Linked DNA regions of Homo sapiens: all the other regions are linked to region 4. Evidence: promoter capture Hi-C in 16 types of primary human blood cells and fetal thymus (Javierre and others, 2016). All regions are on one chromosome and are shown on one strand. Each heading gives the region's core, a stretch centred on a gene start or on the middle of the fragment in contact. The rest is flanking DNA. Distances are from core to core; before and after follow the strand shown.

The links. Contacts are between HindIII fragments. The CHiCAGO score rates a contact against its expected background, and 5 or more counts as called.
Region 1: a fragment that was not itself captured here is called in contact with the fragment with the promoter of FAM111A in region 4 in 1 of 17 cell types (total CD4 T cells); the score reaches 6.5 in total CD4 T cells.
Region 2: a contact is called between the fragment with the promoter of STX3 here and the fragment with the promoter of FAM111A in region 4, in 5 of 17 cell types (activated CD4 T cells, non-activated CD4 T cells, naive CD4 T cells and 2 more). The highest score is 7.0, in activated CD4 T cells.
Region 3: a fragment that was not itself captured here is called in contact with the fragment with the promoter of FAM111A in region 4 in 3 of 17 cell types (naive CD8 T cells, total CD4 T cells and activated CD4 T cells); the score reaches 8.2 in naive CD8 T cells.
Region 5: a contact is called between a fragment that was not itself captured here and the fragment with the promoter of FAM111A in region 4, in 1 of 17 cell types (non-activated CD4 T cells). The highest score is 5.7, in non-activated CD4 T cells.

What each region holds. Positions count from the first base shown.
Region 1 is chr11:59,674,312-59,677,011 of GRCh38, reverse strand. PATL1-DT (PATL1 divergent transcript) reads right to left here. Exons shown (of 4, transcript NR_187296.1): 3 at 2,039-2,085; 4 at 971-1,615. Among named protein-coding and RNA genes, the nearest start is that of PATL1-DT, 6.4 kb to the right of the region's middle. The HindIII fragment of the contact is 507 bases long and covers 1,148-1,654 here.
Region 2 is chr11:59,754,026-59,756,725 of GRCh38, reverse strand. STX3 (syntaxin 3) reads right to left here and starts at 1,350. Exons shown (of 11, transcript NM_004177.5): 1 at 1,091-1,350. The coding sequence starts at 1,120. RefSeq lists a silencer at 1,150-1,409 and enhancers at 2,280-2,439, 2,376-2,670, 2,436-2,700, 2,420-2,700. The HindIII fragment of the contact is 11,536 bases long and covers 1-2,700 here.
Region 3 is chr11:58,520,527-58,523,226 of GRCh38, reverse strand. No RefSeq gene overlaps it. Among named protein-coding and RNA genes, the nearest start is that of OR5B21, 14 kb to the right of the region's middle. The HindIII fragment of the contact is 1,993 bases long and covers 426-2,418 here.
Region 4 is chr11:59,141,411-59,144,110 of GRCh38, reverse strand. FAM111A (FAM111 trypsin like peptidase A) reads right to left here and starts at 1,255. Exons shown (of 6, transcript NM_001312909.2): 1 at 1,165-1,255; 2 at 807-1,028; 3 at 416-614. FAM111A-DT (FAM111A divergent transcript) reads left to right here and starts at 1,303. Exons shown (of 4, transcript NR_110184.1): 1 at 1,303-1,496. It also overlaps the pseudogene LOC100422399. RefSeq lists an enhancer at 1,038-1,487. The HindIII fragment of the contact is 3,476 bases long and covers 1-2,700 here.
Region 5 is chr11:59,807,134-59,809,833 of GRCh38, reverse strand. MRPL16 (mitochondrial ribosomal protein L16) reads left to right here. Exons shown (of 4, transcript NM_017840.4): 3 at 1,985-2,133. Among named protein-coding and RNA genes, the nearest start is that of MRPL16, 2.3 kb to the left of the region's middle. The HindIII fragment of the contact is 1,415 bases long and covers 598-2,012 here.

The DNA of each region.
Region 1 (2,700 bases), core at 152-2,651, 530 kb before region 4:
ATTTACTGAATATTTAAAGCCCACTGCTGAAACCTACTACTCAAAAAAAAAAAAAAAAAAAAAAACTGGTTTATTTTAAAATACTACTGCTCATTGACAATGCAGCTGGTCACCCAAGAACTCTGATGGAGATGTACAAGATTAATCGTTTTCAGGCCTGCTAACACAACATCCATTCTGCAGCCCACACAGCAATTTCAACTTTCAAGTCTTATTATTTCAGAAATACATTTTGTAAGGCTATAGCTGTCATAGATAATGATTCCTTTGATGGATCTGGGCAAAAGAAATTGAAAACCTTCTGGATACTTCTGGATGACTAGATAAAGGAAAACAAAACAAAACAAAAAAACCTGGAAAGGATTTACCATCCTAAATGCCATTAAGAACATTTGTGAAGCCAGGTACAGGCAGCGTGGCGAAGCCCTGTCCCTACAAAAAATACAAAAATTAGCCGGGCATGATGGTGCCCGCCTATAGCCCCAGCTACTTGGGAGGCTGAGATGGGAGAATGGCTTGAGCCCAGGAGGTGGAGGTTGCAGTGAGTCGAGATCGTGCCACTGCACTTGTTTGCCCCCTGCCCGCAAAAAGAACATTTGTGAGTCATAGGAAGGGGTCAAAGTATCAACATTGTCATGGAAAAACTTAAACTGCATTTGTCCTCTGCTCTCACACCACAACAATCAACACAGAAGACTTCTGTGACCAAATATATGGGGGATTTTCCCCACCAACAAGCAGTGGAGACCAGCTGGGTATCCTCCAATTCGATTCTGACACTACCTGGAGATATGTCAGTTCCCACAGGTAAAGGGCTCAGTCCCCAAGATTACTCCCTCCTCCCCCCAGACACCAGTTGCAAGTCCAGGTCTCTGGAACTTCTGATCAATCAGCTTCAAGTTGAGGTTCCCATGACCCCCTCTTTGGGTTCAATAATTTGCTGGAGTGGCTCACAGAACTAAGGAAACACTTATATTTACCAGTTTATTATAAAGGATATCACGAAGGATCCAGATGAAGAGATGCACAGGGAGAGGTATGGAGGAAGGGACACGGAGCTCCCATGCCCTCCCCAGGTAGCCATTCCCCAGAAACCTCCACTTGTTCAGCTATCAGGAAGCTGTCCTCTTGGATTTTTATGGAAGCTTCATTATATCAGCATTCCTTCCCCCAGGCCATGGGTTGGGACCCTCTCTGAAATGAGTCTTATGATCCACAATTATAAAAGCAGAAGATTAGAGTCCTGCTTTGGGGTAGGTGAAAGGAAGGCAGGTAAAAGGAAGGCAAGAGAAGGTCAAAGAGATTCTGTTTCCTGTGTATGAAAACCTATATGTATATATATTTCATAACACTACAAACATTAACAGGACTTTGGAAGAAGTTGATTCCAACCCTCATGGATGACTTTGAGAGGTTCAAGACTTCGGTGGAGGAAGTCACTGCAGGTGCGGTGGAATACCAAGAGAACTAGAATTAGAAGTGGAGCCTGAAGATGTGACTGAATTCCTGCAATCTCATGATTAAACTTTTAACAGGTAAGGAGGTGCTTCTTATGCATGAGAAAAGAGTTTCCTTAAGATAGAATCTTCTCCCGGTGAAGATGCTGTGAACATTGCTGAAATGATAATAAAGGATTTAGAGTATTACACAAGCTTAGTTGATAAAGCAGTGTTTGAGAGAATTGCCTCCAATTTTGAAAGTTCTAATTCATGGGTAAAATGCCAAACAGCGCTGCATGCTACAGAGAAACTTTTCCGTCATGAAAGGAAAAGTCAATCGAGGTGGCTTACTTCCTTGTCTTATTTTAAGAAATTACCATAGCCACCCCAACCTTCAGCAACCACTGCCTTTATCAGTAAGCAGCTATCAACATCGAGGCAAGACCCTCCATCAGGAAAAAGATTAAAATTCGCTAAAGGCTTAGATGATCATTAGCATTTTTAGCAATAAAGCATTTTTTAATTAAGGTATGTACATTGCGTTTTTAAAGACATAATGCTATTGCACAGTAGGCTATAATATAGATATCACTTCTCACCATTTTACATAATAGATTCTCGATAAATACGTATTGAGTTGAATCCCCTGCAAAAAAAAAAGTTTAATAGTTTGCCAAAGTATAACTTTCAAAAAGCTAAATAAAAATTATTCTCTTTCAATTACATTATGAGCATGTGTCAAAATATTTATTTATCTTATTAATGAAAAGAAACAGCAAGGTGGTGAAGCTGATTCAAAGGAGGACACAAGAAACTATGAACTATATAGTGGGGGAAATGGCTGAATTAAGACTCAAAAGTTAAATATATTATTGGTTAATGTCCTGTGTGGCAATAAAACTGTCTCCTTTGAGATGATCTTTCCCACCAAAATGAAATTATCTCCACTGGACAAAAATAATTTGCAACTTGTTAATCTTCTATAAACTAATATCTAACTTTACTGAGTCTGGGATCTCATTAATTAATAATAAACACTAAGTCAAACAAGGTTACCTCTCTGTAGAACTTTAAATGACCTTTAGGCAGGCTTGTTAGATAATGTTCTTATTACAACATTGCAAGGCACACAACAATCCTTTTTCCTTATTTCCAAGTTTTGTATAATTTTTCTAAACGGACACATTCCCACTATCTATTAGTGAGCAATAAACTACTCTAAAACTTTGTGGTTGAAATGTACATATATATATATAGCCAC
Region 2 (2,700 bases), core at 101-2,600, 610 kb before region 4:
TTTTAAGGGATCACCAGTAAGCAGTGGAGCCAGGAGACAACCCCAGTTCTAATCCAGTCCAGTGCTTCCCAAACTGTAATGTGCCCATGAATCACCTGGGGAAATGGATGAATAATTAGATTCTGATTCTGCGGGGCTAGACTCAGGCCTAAGCTGCTACACTTGTAACAAGCTCCAAAGTAGATGGACTAAACTCTTGAGTGTCAAGGGCTAGATTTTAATTCTATTAAGGTAGAACCTGTGCCACTGAATCTCCAAGGCTTAGCACTGGACCTCCCCATAGAATACACTCAATAATTATGTACTGAATGAGTCAATGAATATCTGGCTTAAAACCCTATGCGTTAACCCTTTTCTGTATCAAGTTCCATTGTATCAGCTGATCCTCCCAACAAATTCCTAGGGTATGATCATTCCCATTTGATAGATAAGGAAACAGAGACTCACAGTAAGTAACCTAAGGCTTTACAGCTTTTGCGCAGCCAAGGCTGGAGGTAGTCTACCTTCAGATCCTTTGACCTAACCACAGCTGTTCCAAAAGATACGGCGGGGGAGGGGGGGACAATGACACCCGGGGATAACAATTACAGACCACCGGTTGGAGAGGAGCTGACCCATCCCAGCATGTGACCGGCTCACAGCTCCAGAGGTCACCAGAGAGCTCTGAGCTGCTCCCTGGGGGAAGGGGCAGCCAGGCCTGTAGCACCTCAGGAGAGAAACAGGAAAGGGAGAAGGAGGCTGGTCCTGGGCATAGTGCCAGGCAGCAGTGGGCAGGTGGTGAAGGGACCCCTGACCTCCCGGGCCCAAGCACCCGCTTCGGGAACCAGCTCTGGACAGACACTGTCCAGCTTGCGGGGTGGGAGAGTTAGAGGCGTTCAGGAAAATCATTGCCTAGCGATGAATCACCGGGCACATGACCCCGCAGGGGAGGGGAGGGGAGGGTGCGGAACCGGCGCGGGAAGCGGTGGGGGCTTGGGGAGGGCAAGCCTCCGGCTCGGGCCCCCCTCCAGCCTCGACTTGGGGAGCAAAGGGAAGCCCCTCTCCCATGCAGCACCCCTCCTGGCAGCACCCCGCCTGCGGCGAAACTCACGGCCTTCAGCTGCTCCAGACGGTCCTTCATCCTGAAGCCCAGGCGCCCGGAGGCAGGTAGCGCGTCCCAGGTGAGCGCGTCCCAGGTGAGCGCTTCCCAGGTGAGCTGCCGGAAGCGGCGGCCGGGCCCGCCGGGGCGAAGGAGCTGGAGGCGCAGGCGGCGGCGGGCGGCGGCCGCTAGCTAGGAGGAGCGTCCGAGGCCACGGGAGCCTCCGCCGCGCAGCCCCCTCCGCCCCCACCGGCGCCTCGCGCTCCAAATCCGGCTCCCGGGCCGGCGCCGGCGCAGCGCTGATCCGCCCTGGACCCGCCCCTACCTGGCCGCGCCCCTCGCTCCTTCTTAAAGGGCCCGCGTCCCGCCACCGCCCGGCCGCCCGGGGCGTCTCCAAAGCCCCCTTCCCTAACCCGAGAGCCCTCCAGACACGCGTGGAGTCCGGGGAGAGGCCCCTGCACCGGCGGATCCTGCCGCAGGGCCGAGGAAGAGCAAGAGCGACTGTCTGGCTGCGGTCATTCGCTGTCTGTGCCGGGCTCCTCGCTAGGATCCAGTTCTTAGCCGACTCCTTGCTAGGCGGGGACAAGCTCCCGAAAACAAATAAGACAATGTGATGTGGGCTACATTGGGTGGCAGTCGAGTGTTCTAAAAATATCCCGCCAGGAGGAAGGCATTCCGAGTAGCGGGATCCCGCGCAGCCTCAGGGCTGCTGGCAGTGAAAGTGGGGGGATGGAGGAGGTGTCCAGAGGAAAGACCTGGAGATCTGGAGATACAGGACGGTCAGGGTGGTCAGAGAATTTGGATCTTTTGCTTGTTGGAAATCGGGACCGCTCCGAGAAACGTAAGCAGCTCGATGTTGTTAGTGCCAGTGGAGACACTTGGCACTCACAATTTGCAGACGTTTGGGAAAGCATCGTTTCTCAAGAGGACCCCGTTCCCGTGTCTGTAAATCAGAGATGGTACCCACTTCGTAGTTCGCTGTGAAGCCTGTGAGCGAGGAGGGGCTTTAAAATACAGAACTTTGCACTGGAGCGCTCCCCGTCCTCGCAGCCTGCTTGGTGTGCAGGTGGTTCCCAGGCGGCTTCTGCTTCCGAAAAGCAGATCGTCCCTTTATCTCGAGTCTTCTCCCCGCCTCTCCCTCTTCTCCCTACCCTATTTGTCTTCTTGGGAACAAATGGCACATTCATCAGAGTGGAGATCCATAAACGGGACTGGCGAGCCGAAGATTTAATTCTGAAGAATAGGATCTGCTCTGTGCTTTCAGGTTAAAAAGCTGTAAATATCTTTGTAATTCTAGCAGTACTTTGCCCTCTTCTGCCATCTGAACGCGTGCTCCCTGCTGACCTCATCGGCTCCCATAAAGATACGGTGCGTATGGCAGAGGTCGGGCTTTGAGCCGGCCCCGCGGGTCTCGGCCGTAGTTCTCTCTCGCGTCCGGCACACTTCCTTCTGCCCGCTGTGCTCGCTGGGCAGGTTGTCCCCGCCTTAGTACCAGGAGGGCTTCCGCGCCCCCTGGTGGTCATACTAGGAAAGGCGAGTAGATCAGAAATACACACTGTCCCACCTCCTTCCCCTAACACATTTTTGGGGAGTTTGGGGGTTGTTTGTTTGTTTGTTTGTTT
Region 3 (2,700 bases), core at 173-2,672, 620 kb after region 4:
TCAGAAAGAACATTCCCATTCGTTGGAATTCTAGTTGTGCGGATAATAAAAACCCATTGCTGCTGATAAATATTTTTATCATCACTTGGGGGAGGCTGTCTGAGAAAGAGGCCAGCACAGTGGAACGTAGAACCAAGTAATGGAGAGGCTGTGTTTTCTTTTTTTGAGCCACTCAGTTCTACCATAGCAGCATCTTAACCATAGACTAGGAAATTATGTGAGCAAATAAATTCTCTTTTTTGTTTACATTGAACAAATAAACTCAGTGTTGGTACAGAACGTATATTGTATATCGTCATGAAAAACTAATACACAAAAATAGTGTTTGATCACTTCTTGATGCTTTTTACACCAGAGCACAGTGAAACTCTGTAGTTTAAGGTTAAGTCATCCTGTGGATAGCTCGCATATTTAGAGTACAAGCTTCTTGCTCCTGTCCAATTTTGCAGTATCTGTCACTATTACAAAGGGGAAGAAAAAGGTTGTGAGGGTGTTGTCATCCTCTAAGATTTAAAATTGTTTTGGAAATGATGGTATTCATGCTACTTTGTTTAATTATAATCCAGAGAGAACTATTACGTATTTGATATTACTGCAATACTCTTTATAGTGAAAACTAGTTTTAAAACATCCTGATACCCCACTAGCAAACAAAAAAGGAAGAAAAATTAGACGATTATAAGAGAAATCAATTTACATTTATCCTGTGTCTTAGTCTGCGCAGTTGCCAAAACAAAATACCATAAATGGGGTGTCTTAAGCCACAGAAATTTATTTTCTCATAGATCTGGAGATGAGAAGTCTCAGATTAAGGTCTGCAGGTTTGAATTCTGTTGAGGGCTCTTTTCTTGGCTTGCATATAGCTGCCTTCTTGCTTTGTCCTCACAGGGTGAAAAGAGGGAGAGAGAGAGAGACCACAAGAGATCTGGTGTCTCTTCTTGTAAGGAAACCAATCTTATCAGATCAGGGCCCAACCCTTATGATTTCGTTTAATCTTAATTACTTCTTTACTTAAAATACAGCCACATTGGGGGTTAGGCCTTCAACATATTTTGGAACGACACATTCAGTCCATTACATCCTGAAAGGTGCTACTTAAAGAAAATTGGGTTTATATGAAGTTAAGGAGGAAAAAGAAGACATTTATAGTGATTCTGAGAGGGGACCTTAGGGACACTTTTCAATGCTTTGGAAGTTTGAAGTGGTTATTTTCATTATGTTCAATAACACTTAGAAAATAGGACTTTCTGTCTCTAGGTGCTCTTGCATTTTCAGACATGAGTTAGAAAATATTGGAGGCTCAAAAATAAAATGAAGAACTTGGAGATTTTCCTAAGATAATCTGAAAATTTTGAAATGGAGGAAAAGTAGGACGGAAGAAAGTTACAGGATATATAAGATAATTTTTGAGTTGGGCAAGGTGAAATTTTCAGAGCTTTCAGTAAAGGAGGCAAGATGGGCCGTATAACACACTATCTGAGGAAAAGAAAGACAGAGTGGGGGGAATTGTCACTCAGTTCCCTTACACAAACTACCTGGTGAAGCTACTACTTACCCTAGATTGTCTCACAATTTGGGGTTTTTCTAGAAGTGGATGCTGAGACTAGGACTTGTGTATAGTAGTCTATTTAGGAGGCAATCTCTAGATGTACAGCTAGAAGAGCCAAAAGTGAGATATTTTCTATATTCTACAGGGATTACGCCTGTAATCCCAGCACTTAGGGAGGCCGAGGTGGGCAGATCACGAGGTCAGGAGATCGAGACCATCTTGACCAACACAGTGAAACCCCGTCTCTACTAAAATACAAAAAATTAGCCGGGTGTGGTGGTGTGCAGCCTGTAGTCCCAGCTACTCAGGAGGCTGAGGCAGAGGAATCGCTTGAACCCGGGAGGAGGAGGTTGCAGTGAGCCAAGATAGCGCCACTGCACTCCAGCCTGGGCATCAGAGTGAGACTCCGTCTAAAAAAAAAAAAAACCCAAAAAAACAAACAAACAAAAAAGAAAAGGCAAGGAAGCCAAATCAGTGTGCATTAATGAGCAGATTACTGTCTTGGGAAGTTGGAACTCAATACTCAGAGGACCTCTGGGATTCATTGTAGAGTACAAGAGGTGGTCCACCAACCCTTACACCCCACTTTGTCTTCCTTGTACTCAAGCTGCATGTACTCTGAGGCCAAAGAAAGCCCTTTTTCTAAATCACAGGCACTTTGAGTAGGAGCAGCAGTGTGTACCTAGCAGTAAGTGCCAACAGATAGGGGTGGGGAACTAATGCCATTTGTTGGGTAAAGTTATCGAGGGGTAAGGTTAAAAGGAAGAAAATCATACCAAAGGACTTCACATTACCGGTAATCACAAGACCGAATTTGTGGTAAGCCATGCATTTGCAAAGTTTTATAATATTCCCAGCTCTATGAAGCTTAATGTATTTCATCTAAGGTAGTATTAGTAGAGGGGATGACAGAAGGGAGAAAGTGGGCAAGGATTATTATTTCCATTTACCTGTGGAAGAAGCAGTTGATTACATGAATAGGTCAAGGTGACTTGATTTAGAAACAGAACTAAAGTTTGTTAATTCCTTGTCTGGGATGCTTTCTTTTAGGCTGTATATCAACAATGTAAAGTGCCCATGAGGTGAATTTTCAAGGGACAAGCAAGGGCACTAGGGCATCAAAGTGATCTGCTCTAGGCTACACTGTTTTG
Region 4 (2,700 bases), core at 6-2,505:
TGACAGAATTTAAGTGGTGTCTCAGAGAGGGAAGAGCAAGTTTGGGCTATATGTATTGAGATTTTGAAGTCCCATTGTAAGTCTAATATTTAATGAGGGGAATTGGTTAGAATTGAGTCAGCTACGGGTAAAAGTTTAGGATTGGTAGATAAAACAAGGCTAGGATTTTGAGGTAAAGGTTCAAAGTCTTAGAATGTAAACTGTTCTTTGATGTTTTCCATTGAAGAGTGGTTGGATCTTTGAAGAAGATACTGGATTAAGCAATAAAGATATTTGCAACTTTCCGGTCCCTGGCAAAAGTTTCTTGAAATAGTAAATGTATGTTGATGAAAATAATGGAATAAGAAGTCAGGTTAATGTAGTTGGCAAGCTATGTGAGTGTAGATGGCTTCAGTTCTCACAATAGTGAACATACCTGATAATGTACTCAACATTTGTCACTTAGAGTATTTTATCCTGGAAAGAAGCGTAGTTGGGAAAACGCACTTGAGATGATGTTTGCTGCACACAGAATTCGGACACAGAGATGTGAATCTCCTTAGGAACCATTTTCATAAAGTTAACATTGGGTCTTAATAGACATCAGTTTTTAAAAATTAGAACAGGCTTGGGCACTGCAAAAGAAAGACACATCCGTTCACTTGGCTGTTCTTTTTAAGTTTCCAGGGAGAGCGTCAGTGCCCCTTTCAACAATAAAAGCCCGCAGGAGTGCAGATTTTATTTACCCTGTCCCCACCAGCATCCTGCTGCGGCCAATGAATCCTGGCAAAACTCCAGGTCAGCCCCAGAACCAAAGAGTAACTCACCTAAGAGGAAGGTCCGTTCCCACCAAGTCTCAGACGCCTGAACTCGTGATTTTTAGGGACTTTCCCTTCCAGTCCCTTGGAATCCAGCACTTTGGTTGGAGAACAGAACTCACTTGGGGAATGGCGCGTCTGGCCAATGGAATGAAAGATACTGGAGTTTGTCTTTTCTCTTCAGGCAGCAACTCACCTACTTCGGAAGCCGATTGGCTGCGCTGGGGACACCTGTTGGCGTGCAAAAAAGAGTGGTTGGAAAGGCAAGGCCGAGGGGGCGCGCCTACCCTACCCACCCACAGCGCTCCTCCTTGACGCCGCGAGCAGGACCCTGTCTCACTGACCCCGTGCCCACGGCGGTCCTTGCCTGCTTCTATTCTCCCGGTTTCCCCAGTCCCGAGTATTGGAAAGCGAGAGCGAAAGCGAAAGCATCCTAGTCGCCGGTAGGCTGGCCTGGGCCGGGCTGGAGAGGGAGCAGGAAATAAAAACTCGGGTGTGGGAGGAGCTGGGACGCTGGCGGCAGAGCCACTGTGGCAGCTTGAGTCTCGCGCGCGCAGGAAGCGGAGGTGGAAGTTGGGGCGCAGGAATGTGGCTGTCCCCGCCTGTAAATCATGGTTGGGGAGGAGTCGCGGAGGCACCAGGCTGGGGTCTGCAGCGCGCCATCTGCTGCAGCACACAGGAGGCGCTGAGGCTAGTTGGGTAAGTGGGGAGATTTCAGGCACTTCCGAGGGGGCGGCATCCCCAGCAGGTGGGATAGGCCCGGTGACTAGGACAAAATCACGAAGAAGCCGCGGATGCAGGAAGAGTAAACTCCCTTGTCATAAATCGATTCTCCAAACGTTCATCAATATGTGGAGACGTTTATGATAGTGATGAAGAAGATGATATGGGCTCTAGGAATATGCATCTCAAAGCTGATGATCGAAGAAGATTGGAGAGGGTTTTCAAGGCAGCCTGCTGTTTAAGGACCTGCATTCTGAGTAGATGTGTATTGGAAAAGGCGATTACAGTCACAAAGGGGACAACTTTTATGCAATTGACAGAGGACTATATGATGTATATAAACAGATAGGGTTGAAAGGTGTGTTGGTAACTACAAAACACATGGGAATTTGAAGGAAGGAACTGGCCTTAAATGCATGTACAATACACCAAGAGAAGCTAAAATTACTGCTTCATCTTCTGTGGGTTCTTTGGGGTTTGGATAGAGTAACCTTAAAACATATTTGAATGCTGACTTTTTCTATGAGACTCACTTTTGGAATCTGTGCATTCCTACATTCACAAAGGGTAATCACAGCTAGTACCCAGCATCCAAACAATAGCAGCCAATAATTCTAATCTGGAGAAAATTTTCTTTTCTCTCTCTTTCTCTCTCTCTCTCTCTTTCTTTCTTTCTCTTTCTTTCTTTCTTTCTCTTTCTTTTTTTCTTTTTCTTTCCTTCTTTCTTTCTCTTTTTTCTTTTCTTCTTCATTCCTTCCTTCCTTTCTTCCTTTCTTTTTTCTCTTTATTTCTTCTCTTTCTTTCTTTCTTCTTTCTTTTTTCTTTTATCTTTCTTTCTTTCTCACTTTTCTCCTTCCCTCCCTCCCTCCTTTCTTCCTTCTTTCTCTTTTGCCTGTTTTACATTTTAATGTGTAAGCAAATAGTGATTAAAGGACAATAGGCTTAACATTTTCTAAAACATGGGTGTTCAGAATTGAATATACTGATAAAATTTGTTTCCAAAAGGAAGGATTATATACTAGGTGGGAGTGTAAATTAGTTCAACCATTGTGGAAAACAGTGTGGCAATTCCTCAAAGACTTAAAAACAGAACTACCATTCAACCCAGCAATCCCATGACTGGGTATGTACCCAAAGGAATATAAATCATTCTTTCATAAAGACACACGAACACGTATGT
Region 5 (2,700 bases), core at 56-2,555, 670 kb before region 4:
GTTCGTAAATCTTTTCTCTGATGGAAACCAGGAGCGGGTGGGAGATGACATAGGAATGTTCTCGTGTTTCCCATCCCCGTTCACTCTTTCAATAAATATGTTTTTAGAGCTTACAGTTTTGCCAACTAATATTCTGAGCACTAGAAATAAATCAAAGACAAAGGAAACCAAAAAAGTTCCTTGCTCTTACGGAGCAGCGTCTAATGAGATAGCTCCCCTAAAACCTCCCACTGGTGTGTGTCCCATGGTCCACTCAGCCAGTAGTCATTGGCCTGAAATCTGGATTTTTGAGCGGGCATGGTGGCTCACGCCTGTAATCACAGCACTTTAGGAGGCGGAGGCGGGTGGATCACTTGAGGCCAGGAGTTGGAGACCAGCCTGCCAACCTGGTGAAACCCCATCTCTACTAAAAATACAAAAAATTAGCTGGGCGTGGTAGTTTACACCTGTAATCCCAGCTACTCAGGAGGCCACTGCACTCCAGCCTGGGCAACAGAGTGAGACTCTGTCTCAAAAGAAAAAAAAAACCTGAACTTTTGATGTTCTTTCCAAATAAGTTTACATATATGCAGTCATCTAACGATATGTGAAAAAGCTTTAATTTGTTAAATTTAAGCCACAATATCGTAAAACTAGTTTACTTTTTAAAAAAGAAATATACTGGAACCCTCAAAAAAAATGAATAGGGTCTGTACATCTGAGGGTCTTCTGTACAGAATTGTTAAACCACGTTTTGAAAGTACATTTTGACTTGTAGGTGAAAGAAAGCATTACTAAGATTCTCTGTAGCTACATATAGAAGTTGAGGGGCAGCTTCTGAAACTCTGATAGTAATAATTTGGTATTTCCTCAAACTCTTCTATTTTGTATTTGTCTCCATTATAAAGCCATACTTGGTTCATTTAAGAAATTTTTAAAAATGATTTGTATGTTAACTTTTTTCCCCAAATCGTCAAGTAAGGATGATAAAGAAGATGTCACATGTCTGGCCTGAAGTTTTGCCCACCCACCAAAACCTGGCACACTGACCTGTGCAGGTCTCAGCATGAAAAGTCCCTGCATATATGAGAGAAAGAGCATTGATCAAAGGATTCCTAGGTTGTAAGTTTCTCAACAAGAATGTGGCAGAGCTGGAGAACTTAGATATTTTTATGTACAATATAGTATTCTTCCACTACCCCCATTAACATCCAGAGAGGCAGGGAAATATATGTATATATTTTTGTGACATGGTATGTAGCTTTGCTGTTGAACTGGATGGCATAGACCAGATTATAAAGTGTTTTTAGCCCTCGGGTTCCTCTTCTATAAAATGGAGATTAAAAATACTACCTGCCTAATATCCTGTTTGTTGATCTGGGTAATAGTGGTGTGTGTTCATGTGTTCACTTTCTGGTAATTCACTGAGCTGTATATTTTTAATTTGGCCCTTTGATATAGCTGTGTTAAACTTTGACAAGTTTAAAATTTTTAAAAAGAGAGCCCTGAAAGAATACCAAGGCTATAAAGTTATTTTAAAGATTAAGTGAACTAGTGGTTTCCAAACAATCCCTGTTACAGTGTTAAGCACAGAGTTGGTGATTAATAAGTGCATTTGGATTCAGAGGATAAAACTTTGCTATCTTTAAAGTTTTAGAAACATTTGCATTAGCCACTGTCACAGCCAGAAGATTCCAGTGTCACTAAAAGCATCTGCAAAAATGTAATATACCTTTACAGTTACTGTTCAGTGGTAACTTTAAGACTTTCAGGCTGGATATGGTGGCTCGCACTTGTAATCCCAACACTTTGGGAGGTAAAGGCAGGAAAATCACTTGAGGCCAGGAGTTTGAAACCAACCTGGGCAACATAGTGAGACCCTGTCTCTACCAAAAAATGAAGAAGAAAGAAATTAAGACTTTCACCTGTTATAAATCTTTCTAGGAAAATAGATCTTTTGAGATGTATAGTTTTACTTTATCCTGGTTGTCTGTGCTTCTTTTAGATGTTTCCATTCCTGAAAAACCCAAGCTTAGATTTATTGAAAGGGCACCACTTGTGCCAAAAGTAAGAAGAGAACCTAAAAATTTAAGTGACATACGGGGACCTTCCACTGAAGCTACGGAGTTTACAGAAGGCAATTTTGCAATCTTGGTGAGTGAATTCAGCATCGAGCAGCAATGGGATGGAAGCTAGGGAATAACAAAATCTCATACTCCTTGAGATAATTTAGTCTCTTCCTCCACAGTTTTTATTAGAACTGCCACCAGTTGCTCTTTAAACTGGTATGTACAGAGGCTACTGGGTACCCAGTAAACATTTGGGTTATATATCTTTTTTTTTTTTAATGTAGAGTGAAAATAACGTAAAAGCAGAAGGAAGGGGCTAGCTAATGTGCCCCATAATCAGATCATGAGATCTTTTCAAGCCCTGGTAAAAATAAAACCATCCACAATATAGGATGTGGAAGACAGCTGTTTCCTTACTTGTTGAGTAGCTTCCATGAAGACTTGATGTCAGCAGCCACACAAATGGGTGTGCACTAGGATTTGTTTTCCACCAGGCAGCCAGAGTGATATTCCAAAGTCCTCTTCCTGCAGCCTACATAATCACCCCCACTGACCTCTCAGAACCTCCTGCCCACTCTCCCCATTCCTCACCCTACTCCAGCCACATTGGCTTCTGTTCAACTTGCCAAGCCCTCTGCTGTGCCAGGGCCTC